5 separate regions of the Homo sapiens genome follow, and all the other regions are linked to region 5. The links are contacts of gene promoters, found by promoter capture Hi-C in blood cells and fetal thymus (Javierre and others, 2016). All regions are on one chromosome and are shown on one strand. Each heading gives the region's core, a stretch centred on a gene start or on the middle of the fragment in contact. The rest is flanking DNA. Distances are from core to core; before and after follow the strand shown. Region 1 overlaps NEK11 (NIMA related kinase 11). Region 2 overlaps NEK11 (NIMA related kinase 11). Region 3 overlaps NEK11 (NIMA related kinase 11). Region 4 overlaps ATP2C1 (ATPase secretory pathway Ca2+ transporting 1). Region 5 holds the start of MRPL3 (mitochondrial ribosomal protein L3).

Region 1 (2,700 bases), core at 141-2,640, 440 kb after region 5:
TAGGAATGTTTTCCTTGTCATTCATTTAAGACTTACAACCATATAGAATCATCCTTATTTTCCCCATTTTACAGATAAGAAAACTGAGACTGGTAGTTTAGGTAATTGTCCAAAGTAAGTGGAAAGACTGAGATATAAATGCAGGAGGTCTGACTTTAAGACCAAAGCTCTTTCTACTCATTGTTAATGTAATCTTTATCCAGCATTTAAATTTTAATAATAACAAGAGAAAGCAGACTAGCAAGGGCATGATAACTGTGTTGTAAAGTTCCTTCCTTGTACATGCCAGGGTTTTCATGCCTTTGTGCCTTCACTTATGCTATTCCGCTGTCTGGGACACACTGTCTCTACCCTTTCTCTGCCAGATTTATATTCATTCTGTAAGTTTGGCTCCAACGTTCACTCTTCCAGAATGTCTTCTCTACTCTATAAAAATAGAATAAGCACATCTCCATCTAGCATGCCCTGCAAGGGGTTGAAAATGCCTATTTACATTCTTGTTTGCCTGACTGGTCCATAAGCTCTTTGAAGGCAAGAGCTATGTCCAGTTTAGTTTTTATTTTTTGTTACTAACAGTTTTATTGAGACATAATTCATGTACCATTAAATTCACTCTTTTCAAGTGTACAATTCAGTAGCTTTTAGTATATCCCCAGAGGTCTGCAACCATCAACACTGTCTAATTTTAGAACCCTTTATTATCCTTATTATGGATTGAATTGTGTCCCCCTAAAATTCATATGTTGGTCTCAACCCCCAGTGCCTCAGAATGTAACTGTATTTGGAGATAAGGTCTTGAAAGAGTCGATTAAGTTAAAATGAGGCCAGCAGAGTGGGCCCTAATCCTATATAAGTGTTGTTCTTATAAGGAGAGGGAGAGACCAGGGACACGCTTGCACAAACACAGAAAGGCCATGTGAAAACAGAGCAAGGAGGTGGCCATCTACAAGCCAAGGAGAGCAGCCTCAGAAAAAAATCACCCTGCTGGCACCTTATTCTTGGACTTTCGGCCTCCAGAACATGAGAAAATAAATTTCTGTTATTCAAACCACCTAGTCTGTGGCATTTCATTATGGCAGCCCTGGAAAACTAACACAGTCCCCAAAGAAATCCCTTATCCATCAGCAATCACTACCCATTCCCACTCTCCATAGCCCCTGGCAACCACTTTTCTTTCTGTGGGTTTGCCTGCTTGATATTTCATATAAGTTGAATCATAGAATATGTAGTCTTTTGTGACTGTCTTCTTCCACTTAGCATATTGTTTTCAAGGTTTATCCAGACTGTAGCATGTATCAGTATTTCATGGCTTCTCATGGCTAAATAATATTCTATTGTATGGATATACCATATTTTGTTTATCCATTTATCAGTTGATGGACACTTGGGTTGTTTCTACCTTTTGGTTATTATGAATAATGCTGCTGTAAACATTTGTGTACAAGGTTTTGAGTGGATATATGTTTTTATGTCTTTTGGGTATGTACCTAGGAATGGAATTGCTAGGTCATACGGGTAATTTTACACTTGTAGTAAATTTCCTGGCTGGTGAGTTACTCTATGATTTCCTCAAGCTCAAGGATAATCATTTTTCAAATACTACTTTTATGTCACTCTCTTGCTAAAGATCTTCTCTTGTATTCCCCATCAGACAAAACTTATTAAGCCTCCAGTTCAAGGTATTCTATCAACTGGACCCTATCTATCGGGACTGTATTAATCATTATTCCCAAACCTGACCCATCCACCTCCTCTATTCATGATCCTATCTCTGTATCCTTTTTCTTGCTTCTGTTTCCCACTCTGTCCCCTTCCTTTCTACTACATCTGAGAAAAAGGACAGTTGCCCTCCAAGAGTTGTCTTGTATTCAAGACTCAGAATTCAGGGCATAGAGAAGATGGTCCTGGAATGAAAAATACTCTGCTGAATTATCTTAATTAACCACAGAGTAAGGGGCTTGGGTTAGATGACGTAAAAGCTCCATTCAGGCTAGATGCAGTGGCTCACAACTGTAATCCTAGCACTTTGTGAGGCCAAGGCAGAAGAATTGCTTAAGTCCAGGAGCTTCAGACCAGCCTGGGCAACATAGTGAGACCCCCTCTCTATAAAAAGTAAAAAAATTAGCTGGGCGTGGTGGCATGTGGCTGTAGTCCCAGCTACTTGGGAGGCTGAGGCAGGAGGACTGCCTAACCCTAGGAGTTTGAGGCTGCAGTGAGCAGTGATTGTGCCACTGCACTCTAGCCTGGGCATCAGCGCAAAAGTCTGTCTCTTAAAATAACAAAAATAATAATTTTTTAAAACTTCATTCATACCTAAGATTCTCTGATTCTGTTGAGAGATTATCTTCATCAGCTGGGCCAACACTGCCCTGAGATCCCTTTACTTCCATTTCTCTTGCCTAGCTTTATGTAGTTGATTACAGTGAATGCCTGAGTCTCCTACTACAGCATTAGTGGGGATCGGTTGGAGCCTGGAACTGGCCAGAATAGAGGAGATGATGTGGTGGTTCCTTTCCTCCTTGACAGTCAGAGCTGTGGAGTCACATCTCTACTAGCACCACGACTTGTTTAATCAGGCTGTGGTGCTAAATCTCTAAAACACAATGCTGAGTGAAGGAAGCCAGACGAAAACAGTCCATACCACATGGTTCTGTTTATTCAAAACGCTAGAAAAGACTTACCTATAGTCACAGAAGCATA
Region 2 (2,700 bases), core at 66-2,565, 460 kb after region 5:
CTGTAAAGGGTTTCATTTCTCCTTCATTTTTGAAGCTTAGTTTGGCTGGATATGGAATTCTGGGTTGAAAATTCTTTCCTTTAAGAATGTTGAATATTGGCCCCCACTCTCTTCTGGCATGTAGGGTTTCTGCAGAGAGGTCTGTTGTTAGTCTGATAGGCTTCCCTTTGTGGGTAAACCAACCTTTCTCTCTGGCTGCCCTTCACATTTTTTCCTTCATTTCAACCTTGGTGAATCTGACGATTATGTGTCTTGGGGTTGGTCTTCTTGAGGAGTATCTTTGCAGTGTTCTCTGTATTTCCTGAATTTGAATGTTGGCCTGTCTTGCTAGGTTGGGGAAGTTCTCCCGGATAATATCCTGATGAGTGTTTTCCAACTTGGTTCCATTCTCCCCGTCCCTTACAGGTACACCAATCAAATGTAGATTTGGTCTGTTCACATAGTCCCATATTTCTTGAAGTCTTTGTTCATTACTTTTCATTCTTTTTTCTCTAATCTTGTCTTCACACTTGATTTCATTAAGTTGATCTTCAATCACTGATATACTTTCTTCCACTTGATTGATTTGACTATTGATACTTGTGTATGCTTCCTTCATGAAGTTCTTGTGCTGTTTTTCAGCTCCATCACATCATTTGTGTTCTTATCTAAACCGGTTATTCTAGTTAGCAACTCCTCTAATTTTTATCAAGGTTCCTAACTTCTTTGCATTGGGTTAGAACACGCTCCTTTAGCTCGGAGGAGTTCATTATTATCCACCTTCTGAAGCATACTTCTGTCAATTTGTCAAACTCATTCTCCATCCAGTTTTGTTCTCTTGCTGGCGAGGAGTTGTGATCCTTTGGAGAAGTGGCATTCTGGTTTTTGGAATTTTCAGCCTTTTTGCGCTGGTTTTTCCTCATCTTCGTGGATTTACCTACCTTTGTTCTTTGCTGTTGGTGACCTTTGGATGAAGTTTTTGCGTGGTCATCCTTTTTGTTGATGTTGATGCTATTGCTTTCTGTTTGTTAGTTTTCCTTCTAACAGTCAGGCCCCTCTTCTGCAGGTCTGCTGGTATTTTCTGGGGGTCCACTCCAAACCCCGTTTGCCTGGGTATCACCAGCAGAGGCTGCAGAACAGCAAAGATTGCTGCCTGTTCCTTCCTCTGGAAGCCTCATCCCAGAGTGGCACCTGCCAGATGCCAGCCAGAGCTCTCCCGTGTGAGGTACCTGTCGACCCCTGCTGGAAGGTGTCTCCCCATCAGGAGGCACGGGGGTCAGGGACCCACTTGTGGAGGCAGTCTGTCCCTTAGCAGAGCTCGAGTGCTGTGCTGGGAAATCTGCTGCTCTCTTCAGAGTCAGCAGGCAGGAACGTTTAAGTCTGCTGAAGCTGTACCCACAGCCGCCCCTTCCCCCAGGTGCTCTGTCCCAGGGAGATGGGAGTTTTATCTATAAGCCCCTAACTGAGGCTGCTGCCTTTCTTTCAGAGATGCCCTGCCAGAGAGGAGGAATCTAGAGAGACAGTCTGGCTACAGCGGCTTTGTGGCACTGCAGTAGGCTCCACCCAGTTTGAACTTCCTGGCAGCTTTGTTTATACTGTGAAGGGAAAACCACCTACTCAAGCCTCAGTAATGGTGAACACCCCTCCCCCCACCAAGCAACAGCATCCCAGGTCGACCTCAGACTGCCATGCTGGCTGTGAGAATTTCAAGCCAGTGGATCTTAGCTTGCTGGGTTCCATGGGAATGGGATCCGCTGAGCAAGACCTCTTGGCTCCCTGGCTTCAGCCCCCTTTCCAGGGGAGTGAACAGTTCTGTCTCGCTGGCATTCCAGGCACCACTGGGATACAGGGAAAAAAAAAACAAAAAACAAAAACCTGCAGCTAGCTGGGTGTCTGCCCAAACGGTTGCCCAGTTTTGTGCTTGAAACCCAGGGCGCTTGTGGTGTAGGCCCCTGATGGAATCTCCTGGTCTGTGAAGACTGTGGGAAAGGTATAGTGGCTGAGCTGGAATGCACTGTTCCTCATGGCACAGTCCCTCACAGCTTCCCTTCGCTAGGGGAGGGAGCTCCCCAACCCCTTGCACTTCCGGGGTGAGGTGACGCCCCACCCTCCTTCTGCTCGCCCTCCGTGGGCTGTACCCACATCTAACCAGTCCCAATGAGATGAACCAGGTACCTCAGTTGGAAATGCAGAAATCACCCACCTTCTGCATTGATCTCGCTGGGAGCTGCAGACCAGAGCTGTTCTTATTCGGCCATCTTGCCCTGGAATCGCCTTTTGAATTTTTATAAAGTAGAAGTCTCCACTGAGTACTTCCAAGTACTCAATACTGAGTTCATGTCCAAGTATAGTTATGAAATATTGAGCCCTTGCCTCTTCATCCATCAGAACGGGATATTATTACCAGCTGAACACAACTTTTGCTGCTGAAACTAGTGTTGAACTAAAAAACTGTCCAATTAAAAAATGCATACACATATACACACCTTAAACACACACATACACACACACATATATATACGTGAGTATATATTTACGTATGTATACACATACACACACACACACAGAGTTTTTATGGTTATGTGAGCTAGCAAAATAATGCCAAAATAAGCTTTATCTGTGGGAAATTATCTACTGTTGTCAGTTTTCAAAACCTTTTGAATATGTACTTACTCCCTGCAAGTTCAATAGTCAACTGCTTTAAAGCTTACTTAAAATGCA
Region 3 (2,700 bases), core at 193-2,692, 280 kb after region 5:
GGGATGTATATTTTGCTTGCGTTGACAAAGCTTCCATGGAGTGTAGAGCTGAATCTCAGCTTCCTGGAAGTATTTGGTTGAATGTAATAAACACTCAGCAAAATAAAACCAGTAGAGGAAAGGAGGAACATTTCCATTAGCAACTACCGTTTGAAGGTAAGAAAAAAATCATTAAATAAGAATAAATAATATGCTTTAACATTTTGACATTTGGAGGCATGAATCCTTATTAAAAATGAGGAAATTTAGGGGCAAAGGTAGGACAAGATGTCCTGGCTGAAGGGTCCTATTACACAACACACATAAAGTTTTTAGCATAGGAAGTTGGAGCAAAACTACCACAGCATTTTTCCTAGATATTTCTTTTTTTTTAAATGTTACTGGTAGGACCAAACAAGATGAATAGGATATATAGCAGCATCATTTTGGCAAGCTGGGAAAAACACAATTCTTTTCTAACAGGTAATGATGGCTTTTGAGATGGAGTTCACTCTGGTGGGTCCTACTTACTCAACCTTACATTCAGCACTTATTTTAAAAAAGAATACCCACCTAAGCTGATGACAATAAGCATCTACCCAAGTTACTTGATGCAACATTGTTAGTAACTAGAATAAAGTTGGTGTTTATAACAATCTTCAGTGAAGAAAGGCCATGAATGGATCACAAGAAAGCATAACAATATAATTTACTAATGGGGGGCTAGAAATAAAGAACTACCCAAACAACTACCCTTGGGCTGGGGGAGGAGAAAATTAGAATACTCAGCTGCAGCAAAACAATGGGCATTTTAGACTTTGCACCATACTCAGACTTAAAATTAAAATTTTTCTTCCAAATTGTAACACATTATTTTTCAATCTATTGTTGCTATTTCTGGTCTAGTGGGAAAAATATGAAATTTGGGGTCAGAAAATCAAGGCTAGAATCTAGCTCTTCCACTTTTTAGATGAAAATTTGTGCAAGAGACTTAAACTCACAGAGCTCCAATTTCTGTGATAAAATTAACATAAGTGTAATCTAGTAGAGTGGCTGCTGAGATTGAGTAATAGAATTCTCATGAAAGCATCGGTATGCAGGGAAGTTTCATACAAATGTTCACTCAATTTCCAAGTCTGTACAAATGGGCTTTTCATTAAATGAGTCCAGAATCCTTTGAAAGTAAGATACTTAATGGATGTAGAATTCCCTGGAAATAGAAGATGTTAAAATGTGTTTGTTATCTATGGTTTCCCACTAAAACATAAAAGGCTGCTGTACAGTAGAATAAAAATTAGTCAGCTCAAAAGACAAAAATTACATATATTCAAAATTGCCTTTGCCAGTTCCTTAGAAAGCAGTGTACTAGGGATCTCATACCTTCTCTCAGCAATTTCAACACAGCGTATTTTTTTTTTTCACATCAGTTCAGATCACTGATTTTCAGCTGAGCAACAGATGAGATAGAATACTGTTATGGAGAAGCCATAGTTTTTATTATTTTTATTATTTATATTGAAATAATATATATTATTTTTATTAAACGTGGCTTCTAGTCATTATATCAAGAAGACACCTGCACGTGTCTGTATGTACACATATATATATAACATACCTATACACATATGTACATGCATATAGAACTTCAATACCTTTTGCATACAAGTGGTTTTTGGTTACATGGGTGACTTTTGTAGTGGTGAAGTCTGAGATTTTAGTGCACCCTCACCGAGTAGTATACACTGTACCCAATATGTAGTCTTTTATCCCTTACCTCCCTCCCACCCTCCTCCCTTCTGAGTCTCCAAAGTCCATTATCCCACTCTGCATGCCTCTGTGTACCCATAGCTTAGCTCCCACTTATAAGTGAGAACATATGGTATTTGGTTTTCCATTCCTGAGTTACTTCACTTAGAATAATGGCCTCCAGCTCCATCCAGGTTGCTGCAAAAGACAGTATTTCATTCTTTTTTTAATGGCTGAGTAGTATTGCATGGTGTATATATGCCACATTTTCTTTATCCACTCATCAGTGATGGGCAGTTATGTTGGTTCCATATCCTTGCAATTGTGAATTGTGTTGTGATAAACATAAACGTGCAGGTGTCTTTTTGCTGTAATGACTAGAAGCCATGTTAATAAAGATCTTCATTTTACTTACACTGAGAACGACAAGAGAATCACAGCATGAGAAGTGTATGAAAACTAAAATCTCCTGAGAGATCTCCAGTTCTGCCATCAAGTAGGGACATGTGCTTGCTGAGTGGAATGAAAGACAGAACCATATGATGTCTTCCTTCTCTTGCCCACCCTCAACTCTCCCTGAATCTCTGTGTCTCTTTCTCTGAGTTGTCCATTCTCCCTCTTTCCCCACTCTTTTCTACTTCCTCTCCCTCTCGAGTCTCTTTGTCCCTTTGACAGTTATTCATTCTCTCACTCATTCATATTTTTCCCTCTTGCTCTCCCATTTTTTCTTTATCTTCATTCCTCCTTGTCCACTCCCTTGGCTTTCAAACTACGACATGGTAAGAAATATCATTTACATTGTTGCCCAGTGCACAGAAATGTGCTTATATATGTATGTTTATAAATATCTTTATAGTCGAAACAAAAGTTTCATACACCAAGACCTATTTACCCAAACTACATATGACACACTCTGGTGTTTTTCATCCTGTTCAATTATTTTTTTAATGCTGGTTGCAACTCACTAAACTGACC
Region 4 (2,700 bases), core at 53-2,552, 510 kb after region 5:
ATGTTGCCTAGGCTGGTTTCGAACTCCTGGGCTCAAGTGATCCATCCACCTCAGCCTCCCAAAGTGCTGGCATTACAGGCATGAGGTACCCTGCCCAGCCATGATTATCTTCTTCACCTTCCTCTAAGCTCATTTTTCTTAGTGGTACAAAATGCAGAGTAAAGGTTTAAACTAATGCATGTCAGGAATCAAATGGCAATGAGATATATAGGAATTATAGAATTTAAGCTACGTGTTGCTCCTGCACATCAAGTAGATCACATGTTGCAGAGGAATTAAATGAAGAACATGGTTTACAAGGATTCATATAAATTATCTCATTCATTTAGCTGAATCCAGGAAAATCTATGCTTTTTAATCAACTCCCCATTTCTTCTAAGATTTCTATATAATTATAATAATGGAAAGAAAAAACTCATATCCTTGCAAAAGCTTGGCAAATACTGTGAGTCCTAAGCTCCCAAATGTTTCCCTGTAGGCCAAAACAGAGTAATAAAGCAGCCTGGAACATATAATTGGAATTTATCACTAAACTCAGGTCATCCAACAGGTAGCTACCAAAAAAATAAATAAATAAATAAATGGGATTCACATGATCCCCACCTGAACACTGTGAAACTGACACCACCATGTATTACACTGGAGTCTTAAATCAACTGGAAACTGTGGCTGACACAAATAGAGCTATTTAAATTTAATAAATTATAACATTAAATGAGGGCAAGATGAATAAATTACTGATATAAAAAACAGGTATGGATGTAAACTTCATAATTTTCAATATTTATTATAAAGCCAAAAAAAGAGCCATACATATGCATATTTCTAACTACCTGAATTTAACTAAAATAAAGGCCATTACTATACCATCATATTAGTGCCCAGAAAAAGGTGAAATGTGGCTGGCACTTGGCAAATACTTCTTAAATGAGGGTCCTGCCATTTACTATGCCTGTTCCAGCCACACAAATCATCTTCTTCATACCATAAAATAGGATAATTACCCTAGAAAAGTGGTTTAGTTTACCTAATGTTTAAATACTAATTCTTTTCCAGTTGAATTCTCTAGGGGTGGGGGACAGGAAAGGATAGGGGAAGATTCTCTGATAGGCATTCACTGAAACAAAGCTTACATTATGGTTTGAAAATCATCATCCACTAGGATCATGTCTGCTGCCTCTTTGCAAACATCTGTACCAGTCTGGCCCATCGCAACTCCAATGTCTGCAGCCTTCAGAGCAACTGCATCATTTACTCCATCTCCTGTCATGGCTACAACTGAACCGTTCTTCTGTAGCGACTAGAGTGGAGCAGAGGACAGGGGAGAGGAAGGAATTTTGATAAAAATGTTGCTTCCATACAAAGCGATAAACAAATCCTCCCTATTTTTTTCACATAATTAAGATTAGAAATAATATAGACCACCCATTGTTCAATGAACTTCAACAAATGGAGATCTCAGTAAGATAAAGCTTAGAAAAAGTTGCTACTAATATTCCCATCTGTGAGAACTGTATCTCTAAATTCTGTTCTTCAAACAACTATACAATGATTCTCAACCAGGGGCAATTGTGTCTCCCAAGGGACATCTGACAATGTGTGGAGATGTTTTGGACTATCAGGATTTGGGGGATGTTACTGGCACCTAGTGGGAAGGGGCCAAGAATGCTGCTAAACATTCAATAACATATGGGGCAGCCCTTCACAACAAGGAATTATCCAGTCCAAAATGTCAATGGTGCCAAGGTTGAGAAACTCTGAACTACACAATGGCTGGCTATCATAACTTAAGACCATTAACTACTGGATACTCTATCAGTTGGTTTAAATACATTTGACTAATTAATATAAATAATCATAGCCTTTTAAGCACTGTTCACACTGTCACAACACTATTTCCTTGCTGTATTTATTTAGTTTCTAACTAATTACTGCTATTTACGCTGGGATGACTCGGCTATGGACCCCAGTTAGAACATTGTTTTATACTGTCTAACTGTTTAAAGAAGGCTGTATTTGCAGATACTTCATTCAAGTTTTCTTCTACATCTTATGCCAACTAAATTCTCTATTAGTGTTTCTATGTCAAGCTCTTACAAAAAAAAAAAACTGTTTTGCTTCACAGTATTTCTGACCTTGATGCTCTACTCCCTGTAATGCAAACATAACAAAAGTAAAGTAGCAGCATTTTGTATACAGAAATAAAACAATCTGATTCTTACACACTCACCTTAATAATTTTCATCTTGTGCCTTGGGCTAGCTCTGTAAAATACTGCAACCTGTTAAAATACAAGATACACTAAAAATCTTCAATATTAAGATTTCTACAGAATAACCCATGCATTCATAACTAATGATGAAAAACTCATCAATTTAAGCTGTATTTAATTTGCCACTGAGATCAAGCTTAAGCAATATGACATATGTTTGTTAAGACATTAATCTGACATGGTCATTTCAATCTTTACCAAAGGTACCACAGGAAATACACAATCTAAACAAGTCATCCAATTTATATCATTATGTGTAAACTCTGGAAAGAAAACAGCCTTATTCTTGAAATGTTCCAGAGACAAAAAAAGGAAAAATTCTCTTGCGTCTGTTTCCTATGACACTCGCATACAACTAAAATAGCCTTTTCCCTTTGTTCTGTCTTCAGGAGCAATAAAGAACAGCTGCTTCTCAGTGTCTGTAGAGC
Region 5 (2,700 bases), core at 201-2,700:
CTCAGACATATGCTGTCTTTTGCTGCATCAAGCTAATTAAACTTGACTTTGTATGAGTTCACGTTTTCTTCTAGTAGCCTTGGCTTATGGGCTTCCACAATGCTGAGCACATACTCTAGCACACTATATGGATAAGAAATGTTAGTTATTGGCAGTAGTACAGAAATCTTCTTATTCTCAACTTCTTGCATGTAGCACACCTCAAAACATGTTTGTTCAATGAAGAGCCATCCTTAAGTATCTGGGAAGCCAGGCAGCATGGCTAGAATGAAGAGATGTAGTTTTTCCTTCAAGGTCCAAAGTATTATTGAAAAGTGTCTAAGGTAACTGCAACAGCAATGAGTGGAATGAATGGACAAGCAAAGCAAAGATTTTTTAGCCCACTAAAGTCCAAGTAATGGCCAGGAATTGACCATTGTCTGGACCTGTTAAACCAAGATAGCCAGATCTCTAGTAAAAAGAGAAGGTTGAAATAGCTACACTTTAAAGTTCTTATTTCCAAATTTCTACAAACAGTAATCTGACAAATAAGGGAATTAGTAGAAGAATAAATGTCCTAGTCACATACATGGTTATTAGGCTAGATCTGGAACCCAAGACAGGGGATTTTTTGTGCAGGTGTATTAGCTATCTATTATTGCATAACAAATTACCCTAAAGCTTAATGACTCAAAAAAACGGTAATCATTTATTTTCTCTGGCAATTTCTCCTAGTCAGTAATTCATGAGCGGCCTGGCTGGGAGATTCAGGCTTAACGTCTCCATGAGTTGCAGCCGAGGACTGGTGGATCCACTTCCTAGGTGGCTCAGTCATGACTGGCTAGTTGATTCCTCTTTATATGTTCCTCCCTGCAGAGCTGTTTGAGTGTCTGCAGGAAATGAAGGCTAGCTTTCTCCACAGGGAGCAATCCAAGAGACAAAAACTGAAGTAACAATATGTTTTATGATCCAGCCCTAGAAGGCATACATCATTTCTATGGGTGTAGTCTATTGATAACACATGCCAACCCTGTTTCAGTGCCAACTCTGCTCCTCTGCCAGATGTGTTGTTTTGGACCAGCACCTAAATTCTGAGTCAGTTTCCTCATTTATAATAGAAAAATAAATACTTCCTTTCAGGACCGTTTTTTATGATTAACAAATATAGGATTATGAAGCGCTGCTTAGCATAATGCATTGCCTCACAACGGGCACTATTTAGAAGTGTCTTCATTTTCCTTAGCGTCCTCAGGAAGTCTGTCCTTATTCTTCTAAAGTTTAAACTCTGAACATCCCTTTTATTTTACCCCTGGAGAGGCGAGTCAGTCCCTTCCCACCCCTACCTACTCCAACTCACATCCAAAGTAGGACAACGGTGGAAGCAGAACTATAGTTTCCGGGGAGCGACTCGAGTGCCCGGAGTTCATTGTAAAACGCACCGGAAGTGGGTCCGGCGGCTTTCTTTCCGTCGCAGAGAGCATCGGCCGGCGACCGTTCCGGCGGCCATTGCGAAAACTTCCCCACGGCTACTGCGTCCACGTGGCGGTGGCGTGGGGACTCCCTGAAAGCAGAGCGGCAGGGCGCCCGGAAGTCGTGAGTCGAGTCTTCCCGGGCTAATCCATGCCGGGTTGGAGGCTGCTGACGCAGGTCGGCGCCCAGGTGCTGGGTCGACTCGGGGACGGCCTGGGTGCTGCCCTGGGCCCGGGGAACAGGTAGGAAGGTGTGAGGGTGTCCTACCTGCACAGTTGCGTCCTGAAGCAGTGGAATGGCCTGGTGCAGTTGGGCCTCCCCTGGGTGGAGGAGGAAGGGGCTCTGTTGAGACGTGGGACACAGAAGAATAAGGGCCGTTAACCTAAGGAAGCACGTTCTAAGGGGATTGAAGTGGTGATTTTTAAAAAACGCTTATGAGCCAGCCACTAGCAGCGAACGCTATTAACAGCAATCATATCTTACAATTAGTGAGCGTTTGCCAGGTACTAAGCGCTCTGCTAAGTGTATTAGGTGCCTTATGTAGCCTCACGGGAGCAAACTGCTATCATAAGGTTTACAGATAAAACTGAAGGTTAGGGAGGTGAGTTAATTTGCCCAAAGTCACTCAACTAATAAGTGGAAAATTAGGAATCTAGCCTGAATTTATCTGACTACAAAAGGAGAGTAGACTGCAGAAAGCTTTACTTCTGTTCTGACCCTCCATGCAAGAATTACACCCCTTCTTCCTGACCTCCGCCCACTAAGGTCTTTCTTGGTATGTTCACCTGTTCAGAGGTCATGCCTTTTGTGGATCTTTTAACTTTGCACACCCAGTTTCTTCACTTCTCTGAACCTAGGCCATGTCATTGCAGGGAGGAGGTGAGCTTGTTAGACAAAGATCAACATGCCACCTTCTGCCACCTCCACTGAATGTAAAACTATTAAGGTACACTTCCAAATGGGTTAGTGGCTTTTCATGTCTATAGGTAGGACTGTTTTTTGGGGAATATGTTTATCTGCGAGGAGAAGATGAATTTTTTTCTCCAGGGTAACGACTAACAGTTTAAATGTGAGCCTTATCCGAAGGAATGTGGGGAGTGAGGAAAAGGTTGGAGACCTGAAAAAAAGGTATACAGAATCCAAGCCCTTTCCCAAGGCCCTGACTACACTTTCCAATTTGTGACTTCCCTTTTCTATATTAAGTGGAGGAAGTTTTTAAATTGTGGTTTGGTTTTATTTATTTTTTCTTTT

The links. The method cuts DNA at HindIII sites, captures the fragments that hold promoters and counts their contacts. A CHiCAGO score of 5 or more calls a contact.
Region 1: a fragment that was not itself captured here is called in contact with the fragment with the promoter of MRPL3 in region 5 in 7 of 17 cell types (total CD8 T cells, naive CD8 T cells, M0 macrophages and 4 more); the score reaches 7.1 in total CD8 T cells.
Region 2: a contact is called between a fragment that was not itself captured here and the fragment with the promoter of MRPL3 in region 5, in 11 of 17 cell types (total CD8 T cells, naive CD4 T cells, total CD4 T cells and 8 more). The highest score is 16.8, in total CD8 T cells.
Region 3: a contact is called between a fragment that was not itself captured here and the fragment with the promoter of MRPL3 in region 5, in 1 of 17 cell types (neutrophils). The highest score is 5.1, in neutrophils.
Region 4: a fragment that was not itself captured here is called in contact with the fragment with the promoter of MRPL3 in region 5 in 4 of 17 cell types (non-activated CD4 T cells, total CD8 T cells, total CD4 T cells and 1 more); the score reaches 6.5 in non-activated CD4 T cells.

Annotation. Positions count from the first base shown.
Region 1 is chr3:131,062,613-131,065,312 of GRCh38, reverse strand. All of the region lies in intron 3 of NEK11 (NIMA related kinase 11), which reads right to left. Among named protein-coding and RNA genes, the nearest start is that of NEK11, 37 kb to the right of the region's middle. The HindIII fragment of the contact is 6,804 bases long and covers 1-2,700 here.
Region 2 is chr3:131,041,352-131,044,051 of GRCh38, reverse strand. The region is part of intron 3 of NEK11 (NIMA related kinase 11); the gene reads right to left. Among named protein-coding and RNA genes, the nearest start is that of NEK11, 16 kb to the right of the region's middle. RefSeq lists an enhancer at 767-1,577. The HindIII fragment of the contact is 2,555 bases long and covers 38-2,592 here.
Region 3 is chr3:131,225,751-131,228,450 of GRCh38, reverse strand. All of the region lies in intron 14 of NEK11 (NIMA related kinase 11), which reads right to left. Among named protein-coding and RNA genes, the nearest start is that of NUDT16-DT, 150 kb to the left of the region's middle. The HindIII fragment of the contact is 2,820 bases long and covers 33-2,700 here.
Region 4 is chr3:130,992,532-130,995,231 of GRCh38, reverse strand. It overlaps ATP2C1 (ATPase secretory pathway Ca2+ transporting 1), which reads right to left. Exons shown (of 28, transcript NM_001378687.1): 21 at 2,231-2,281; 22 at 1,134-1,300. Among named protein-coding and RNA genes, the nearest start is that of ASTE1, 33 kb to the left of the region's middle. The HindIII fragment of the contact is 344 bases long and covers 1,131-1,474 here.
Region 5 is chr3:131,501,721-131,504,420 of GRCh38, reverse strand. MRPL3 (mitochondrial ribosomal protein L3) reads left to right here and starts at 1,450. Exons shown (of 10, transcript NM_007208.4): 1 at 1,450-1,691. The coding sequence starts at 1,600. It overlaps LOC105374114 (a long non-coding RNA gene), which reads right to left and starts at 1,822. Exons shown (of 3, transcript NR_189111.1): 1 at 1,717-1,822. RefSeq lists enhancers at 1,552-1,621, 1,128-1,814. The HindIII fragment of the contact is 1,488 bases long and covers 663-2,150 here.